Linked DNA regions of Homo sapiens: region 1 is linked to region 2. Evidence: promoter capture Hi-C in human tissues and cell types (Jung and others, 2019). All regions are on one chromosome and are shown on one strand. Each heading gives the region's core, a stretch centred on a gene start or on the middle of the fragment in contact. The rest is flanking DNA. Distances are from core to core; before and after follow the strand shown.

The links. Contacts are between HindIII fragments. The study calls those that stand out against the background at their distance.
Region 1: a fragment that was not itself captured here is called in contact with the fragment with the promoter of MARK3 in region 2 in 1 of the 25 tissues and cell types used here (small bowel).

The regions. Positions count from the first base shown.
Region 1 is chr14:103,087,676-103,091,086 of GRCh38, forward strand. LBHD2 (LBH domain containing 2) reads left to right here. Exons shown (of 4, transcript NM_001330236.2): 3 at 410-566; 4 at 2,022-2,352. The coding sequence ends at 2,122. Among named protein-coding and RNA genes, the nearest start is that of LBHD2, 5.2 kb to the left of the region's middle. The HindIII fragment of the contact is 8,591 bases long and covers 1-3,411 here.
Region 2 is chr14:103,384,016-103,387,356 of GRCh38, forward strand. It overlaps MARK3 (microtubule affinity regulating kinase 3), which reads left to right and starts at 1,400. Exons shown (of 18, transcript NM_001128918.3): 1 at 1,400-2,065. The coding sequence starts at 2,015. RefSeq lists enhancers at 225-1,216, 1,217-2,206, 2,147-2,336 and a silencer at 1,677-1,866. The HindIII fragment of the contact is 8,681 bases long and covers 1-3,341 here.

The DNA.
Region 1 (3,411 bases), core at 183-2,682, 300 kb before region 2:
AGGGCCCAGCAGGGAAGACCCCAGGAAGGGACTGGCAGGAGTCTGGGTGCAGGAGGCAGCTGGGGGTGCGCAGAAGCCTGGGCTCATTCCTGGTGACCTTGGCCTCTCCGGCCTCAGGCTCTGGCTGTGCAATGGGCTTCTGGAGCTGAGCACAGCTGCGTCCTATGGTGCCTCCTGAGAGCTGTGACCCCAGGGGCTGAGCACCCTACCCCCAGGGTTGGGACTGGGTAGGGCCTGGGACCTGTCTCAGGGATGTTCCTGTGTGAATACACATGTGCCCATCCCTGCCCTGGGGACTGGGTGGGAAGGGTCTCTGATCTCCCTAGTGGGGCAGTGTGCAGGACAGGGGTAGGGGGGAATAGGAGTGCCAGGCCTGGCATGGCCATGATCCTGCCCATCCTCCTTGCAGGCTGTGGCAGGTGCCTGGGAGAAGGGCCCTCGGCTGGGCCAGCGGCTGCCCTCAATCGTGGTGGAGCCCAGCGAGGCGGACCCTGTGGAAAGTGGGGAGCTGCGCTGGCCCCTGGAGAGTGCCCAGAGGGGCCCCTCTCAGAGCCGGGCTGCTGCTGGTAAGTGAGGGTGCCTGTGGGGGTGCTGAGAGGAGGAAGTGGCCACTGCCAGGGTCAGAAGCGGGGCGTGCTTCCTGCGGCTCCAGCAAGCAAGGCCTTCCCGCCTCCTGCCTGTTCACACTCCATCCTCCGCCCGCCTTGGAGTCTCTGCCTGAGACTCTAGGTGCTGCCTGGCCTTAACCCCCCTCCCTAGCACCGTCCTCCCTCCCACCTGCAAATGAGGTCCCTCATCCACTCTCAGCCGCAGGCCTGGGCACGGGAGGTGCACGGTGCATAATTGTTGAATGAGTGATGCCACATTCTCGCCCCTCCTTATCCAGTGCACCCTCGTCATCACCTCTGGAGCAAGTGTGCCTTGCTCACTAGGGCCTGGGAGGCTGTGAGCCTACAGGTGCTTGTGGTGGGGGGATGGGCTGGCCTGTTGGCAGGCTCCATCCCGCTGCAGGTGCCCTGTTTAAAGGCTGAAAGCAGGCCAGGCGCGGTGGCTCATGCCTATAATCCCAGCACTTTGGGAGGCTGAGGCAGGTGGATCAGTTGAGGTCAGGAGTTCGAGACTAGCCTGGCCAACATGGTGAAACCCCATCTCTACTAAAAATACAAAAATTAGCCAGGCATGGTGGCGGGCGCCTGTAATCCCAGCTACTCTGAAGGCTGAGGCAGGAGAATCGCTTGAACCCTGGAGGCAGAGGTTGCAGTGAGCTGAGATCGTGCCACTGCACTCCAGCCTGGGCGATAGAGTGAGACTCCATCTCAAAATAAAAGCTGAAACTTCTGGGAGGATTGTGTGAGCAGGAGGGGGCAGCCGGCGCCAGGCCCAAGGAACAGGAGAGGCAGCAGGCTGGGCTGTGGGGGCCTTGTGAATGGCTCTGAGGGCCACTGGGGGCTGGGCAAGGGGCATGAGGTGTGCCCTGTGCCCTGGGAGATGTTGTCCCCTGGAGACCCCTGGGAGTCTATTCCCTGAGGAGGAAGTGAATTCAGCCGCAGCTGGGGCCGCTCAGCACCTTGCCTGCCCTCTTCCCATCCCCAGACCTCAGCCTGTACTGGCCAGAAAACCCCCTTTTCATTGTGGCCAGAGGGGTTATCTGTCTGGACCCATAACCCCCACCTCTGCCCAAAGCCTCTTGTCAGTTTCTGCCCAGGGCCCAGGACAGCATCAGGGACCACCACTCGGGTAACCCCTGGGACTTGGGCTCTGGGGATATCCTTGAGTCTGCCCTGGACTTCCCTTCCCTCTGCCACCCCATCATCTGGTGGATGTGGGAGCTGCCCCTGCTCGCAGAGCCCAGCCTCATTCTGCCTCCCTGGCCGAGCACCCCTCCCGCTTCTCATCACCCGAGGGGACCTCCTGGCCTGCCCCAGCCCAGTTGCCTGCCAAACGCTCATTTCGGGCCCCTGGGATCCTCTCAGGCTGCACTCCCCCCGCCGACCAACACGGCCGCCTTTATGTTTCTGCAGCCCCCTCGCCGAGTCTGCCCGGAGAACCAGGGAAAGCTGCAGATAACGCTGGCAGCGAGTGTGCCTGCTCCGAGGACCCAGCAGCCCCGGCCCGGGGATAGGACAAGGACGTGGCTGGGCTCTGCTGTCTGACTGCTGAGGGCCTCTGCCCCAGGGTGGCCGGGCTGATGCACAGGAGGGCCGGGCCTGCCCAGCCTGGAAAGCCCAGAGGCTGCTTCCTGTGTCACAGGGTCTGGACCGCAGCCCTGCCCTCTTCTGCCCATGGCCCAGGTCTGGATCACACCCCGCTTTGTTCCGTGGTTTGAAGCAGAAATAAAGGCACTTCCTGGTGGCCAGTAGGCACACTTGATGGGGATGCAAGGGACTGAGGACAGTTTGGGCTCTGCCTGTGGCCTTCCAGGTGAGGGCCTCAGCTCCCAGCCCAGGCTGGCCAGTCCAGAGCGCCTCTTGGGTGACCACTTGGGCCTGGCACTGGGGCAGGCTGGGCAGGGCTGAGCTGGCTCTGTGGCTGGTGCCTCTGCCCAGGGACCCTCTCTCTGCTTTGGCCAAGGCTGTCCAGGGCAGAACCAGCCTCCTCCAGGTGGCCTCCCAACCCTCCGTGGGGCCTTCTTGGGGCCAGGGCCGGACCCTGAGGGCCTGCTACCCACTTGCCCCGGGTGTAGGAAAGCACAGCGATGGTGCCTGGGGTGGGCCGCCCCATTCCAGGTTGGATCTCGTTAAATCTTCGTGAAGGTCCCATTTTACACGTGTAGGAACTGAGGTGCAAAGCGAGGTGCTCAAGGCAAGCGGCTACGGAGGGAATTCCTGAGGTCAGGAAGCCACTGGGCTGCCACAGAACCTGCATCAGAGGCTGGTGGAGCAGGCATCTCTTCCTGCCCCATGTGGGGGTCCTGTCCCTCCACTGGGTCCATCGACATTGTCTCTGGACTCTGTTCTACTACAGGAGGGGAGCCCTGCTGCCTGGTTGCAGCTGGCATGGGGGCAGAGCCCCGAGTGTAACCCAGGGCCCCCTCCCCAGGTGTGTCCCCCCAACCTGGCCCTCTGCCCTTGGCCAGCCTGGGCCAGGATGAGGAAGCTTAGGGCCGGGCAGTGGTACACTCCATAAATGTCAGCTGTGCCAAGTCCATGGCCTTTCTGTGGCCCGGGCAGGTGTGCCAGGGGCCCATGAGAGGAGGGAGGCAGGAGACACTGCCCCTTTGTGCTTTCCCGCTGCCTCGCCAGCCTCCAGGACGAAGATGCACTTTTCAGATGCACTTTCTCCCACCGCCTTCCTTCTAAAAATAGCCAACCCCCCAATGCGGGAAAGGTGGGAGGTGAGGTGCGGAAGCTGGCCTGGCAGCCCGCTTCAGTTTTAAACCGCAGGACCCCGTGGGCCCTCCCCGGACTATAG
Region 2 (3,341 bases), core at 150-2,649:
TGAACCCGGGAGGTGGAGCTTGCAGTGAGTGGAGATCGCGCCACTGCACTCCAGCCTGGGCGACAGAGCGAAACTCCGTCCCAAAACAACAACAACAACAACAACAACAACAAACATATATTTCGTGGAGCAAGAAATGTCTCAAACATAGCAAGAGAGTTGGGATGCCAACGGACCAAAGGGAAAGCAAGCATGACATAGCCCCCCACTACAAGGGCTTACCTATTATCCAAGCTTTGGGAGCTAGGTTAGAATCCCAGCTCTGTCGCTAACCAACCTGTGTACTTTAGCCAAGTCACTGTACCTGTCTAGACTTCGGATCGCATGTGTGTCTGCCCATCTCATAGGGTTACCCTGAGGCTAAATGAGGTAACAAATGTCATGAACCCACAAGGTAGACTCGACTCTCGGTAACAGTTCGTGTCACCCCCATCTCACACTACTCTCCCTCTTCGGACCCTGCACCCATGGATTCCATCCACCGCTGGCCAGGAGCTGAGTAGAGGCACCGAGCACGTGAAGAGGTGAATGGGCAAGGAAGGCTTCCAGGTCAGGTAGCATTTCCAGTGTTCCAGCCTGCAGGCATCTACCGAGCCTGGCCCGAGGCTGGCACCCAGAGATGCTTCCAGTCTTCCAGCAGCAACGCACTGACTGTAAGAAAAGCCTGCTTATAAACCCCCTACAGGCATTTGGAAGCTGGTCCCTGGGGTCCTCTACAGATTCATTTCGCCCCCAAACCCATCCCCTTTGTGCCACCCTCGTTATTGCACTCTTCCATCCGGATGGCATTTAGCTGGGTCCGGGTCTGTCACCCGTCTGACCACCAGCTCCTTGAGGGCAAGAGGCGCCTGCTGCCCTCAGGGTCCGCGCCCAGCCCGCAGCTGCTCAGATCCGGAGACGGGAAGGTTTGTTGGCGAGAACCTGACTCCCGGGTCACAGTTAAGGATGCAAGAGCCCGGCGCCTTCCCGTAGCCCCGGCCCTGTCATTAATTAATGCTGGGGCTCCATTCGGTGCAGCGCAGTCCCAGGGATGCAACCGCAACTTTTGCGCACAATAGGCTCTCGATCTGTAATCCAGCCAACCCAGGCCTGTAGTGTGTAAATGCCAACTCAGCGGGAGGGCTCTGGCTGTCGCCCAGAGCCGTTTCTCGGCTCTTTCGCGGTTGCCGGCGCGCTCGGGACAGGAGGAACCCGCAGCCCGCGGGAGTCAGCGGAGACCCGACCAGCACTATCCAGCCCTCTGCACCGCCCCCGCGGCGAGGTCTGGACCAAGTCGCCCCTAGCAACAACAGCCGGGCCGGCTTTCTCAGGCCATGCTGATTGGCGGGACTCCGGGTGGCGGCCTGTCGTCACTTCCGGCAGCCGGAGGCAGCAGAGGAAGCCGAGGGGCGGCCATCTTGGCTCCGTGAGGCTCTGAGGTGCCGGGGTGCGGCGGCGGCAGCGGCGGCCAGCAGGGCGGAGGCTGAGGCAGCAAGCTCGCTAGAGAGGGAGAAGCAGTCGGGCGCAGGCGCCTCCTCCGCAGCCCGCTCCATGGTCGGCGCCCACAGCCCGCGGCGGCCTGTCTTGCGCTCCACTTCCTTCACATCCTCCTCCGCCTCCTCGTTTTCAGGCGCCGCCGGCGGCGCTGTGTGGAGGCCCGCGAGCTGAAATTCGCGGTGCGACGGGAGGGAGTGGAGAAGGAGGTGAGGGGGCCCAGGATCGCGGGGCGCCCTGAGGCAAGGGGACGCCGGCGGGCCGAAGCGCAGCCCGCCGCCCGCAGGCTCGGCTCCGCCACTGCCGCCCTCCCGGTCTCCTCGCCTCGGCCGCCGAGGCAGGGAGAGAATGAGCCCCGGGACCCGCCGGGGGACGGCCCGGGCCAGGCCCGGGATCTAGACGGCCGTAGGGGGAAGGGAGCCGCCCTCCCCACGGCGCCTTTTCGGAACTGCCGTGGACTCGAGGACGCTGGTCGCCGGCCTCCTAGGGCTGTGCTGTTTTGTTTTGACCCTCGCATTGTGCAGAATTAAAGTGCAGTAAAATGTCCACTAGGACCCCATTGCCAACGGTGAATGAACGAGACACTGAAAACGTAAGTAACCTGGGCGTTGTAGTTGGCGGACCTTCGGGGTGGCATTCGTGCTCCTCGGGCAGTGCCTTGCAGTCGGGTGTTCCCCCCAGCCGAACGCTCTGGAAATAGAGGGCAGGCCGTAGTCACCCAGGAGGCAGCCAGGTCGGACCGTTTCCTCCAGAAGTCTGCCGTGTCCCGCTGTTCGCGGGCGGGTCTGCGAAGTACATCGATTATGCCGGCAGTCTAGTCGGTTAATAAAGCCCAGGAGTTGCAGCGTTACGGATCGGTGCTTTGAGAGGCCAGGTTGCCGCGCAATGGATTGTGCAAACGTGTGTGTCAGATCACTGCAGTGGTCAGTGCTTATTTTAGCCGAACTCTGCTTTTAACTTGGTCAGGCAGTTCTTGAGAGACTGTCACATTAATAACATATGTTACCGGTGCTGATTAAGAGTAATCGATTGGGTCAAGTGGGCGGTCTCGTTCTTTAAGATGGTCTGGAACTAAATTTAATCACAGTCACTAAGTGTCCACTGAGGGATCTTTGCGGTCCCCTTAGGAATTCCAAAACACTAGCGCGCAGCCTTTATTAAGGCAGTTTCCTTTCCATACAAATCTTTTTTGAAGGAGTTGGTTAAACATTTTGAAAAGCAGATGTATAGTGAAGCTCTGCTCTGCCACTCACTGCCTAGCTGAGGGACACCCGCTGGGGGCTTCGCTGTCCTCCTTCCTAAAAAGAGATTGGCTTAGATGAGCTCTTAGGTCCCTTTCAGCGCTCACAGGCTATGGTTTTATAAAAGGAACCTTTGATTTTGTTCATGTGAAACTACAAAATGCCAGGAACAGCATTGCTAGAGAATGAGAACTTGTAGTAGAAATTCCATTGAAGAAACGTTTGACTCTGTTCGTTTTCTAACTCTGTTCTCCTCTAACACTGGGTTCAAAAGTGTTTCAATCTAGTTGTTGACTATATTCTGTAAAACATCTAGTAAATAATTTGTAAAGAAACTTCACTGGCCTTTCATTAAAAGTGTTATGAGGTAATTGCTGGCACGAAATGTCTTCTCTTAGGGAATGCTTCCTTGCTTTGAGTGTTTTCATGCTTTCAGTAATGTCCTGAGATGTTGTGGCCTAGTGGAGTTAATGCTTTCATTTTGATCTTCAAAAATGCCGCTTGTTTGCTGGATAGCTGTTTGATAATTTAATCCGTAAACGTAAACCATAGCCTAAAGCATCCCTGTAGCATATTAGTATACAATATTTAATGCTCTGTGGCCCTGAGTAAGTAGAACAGTGATGT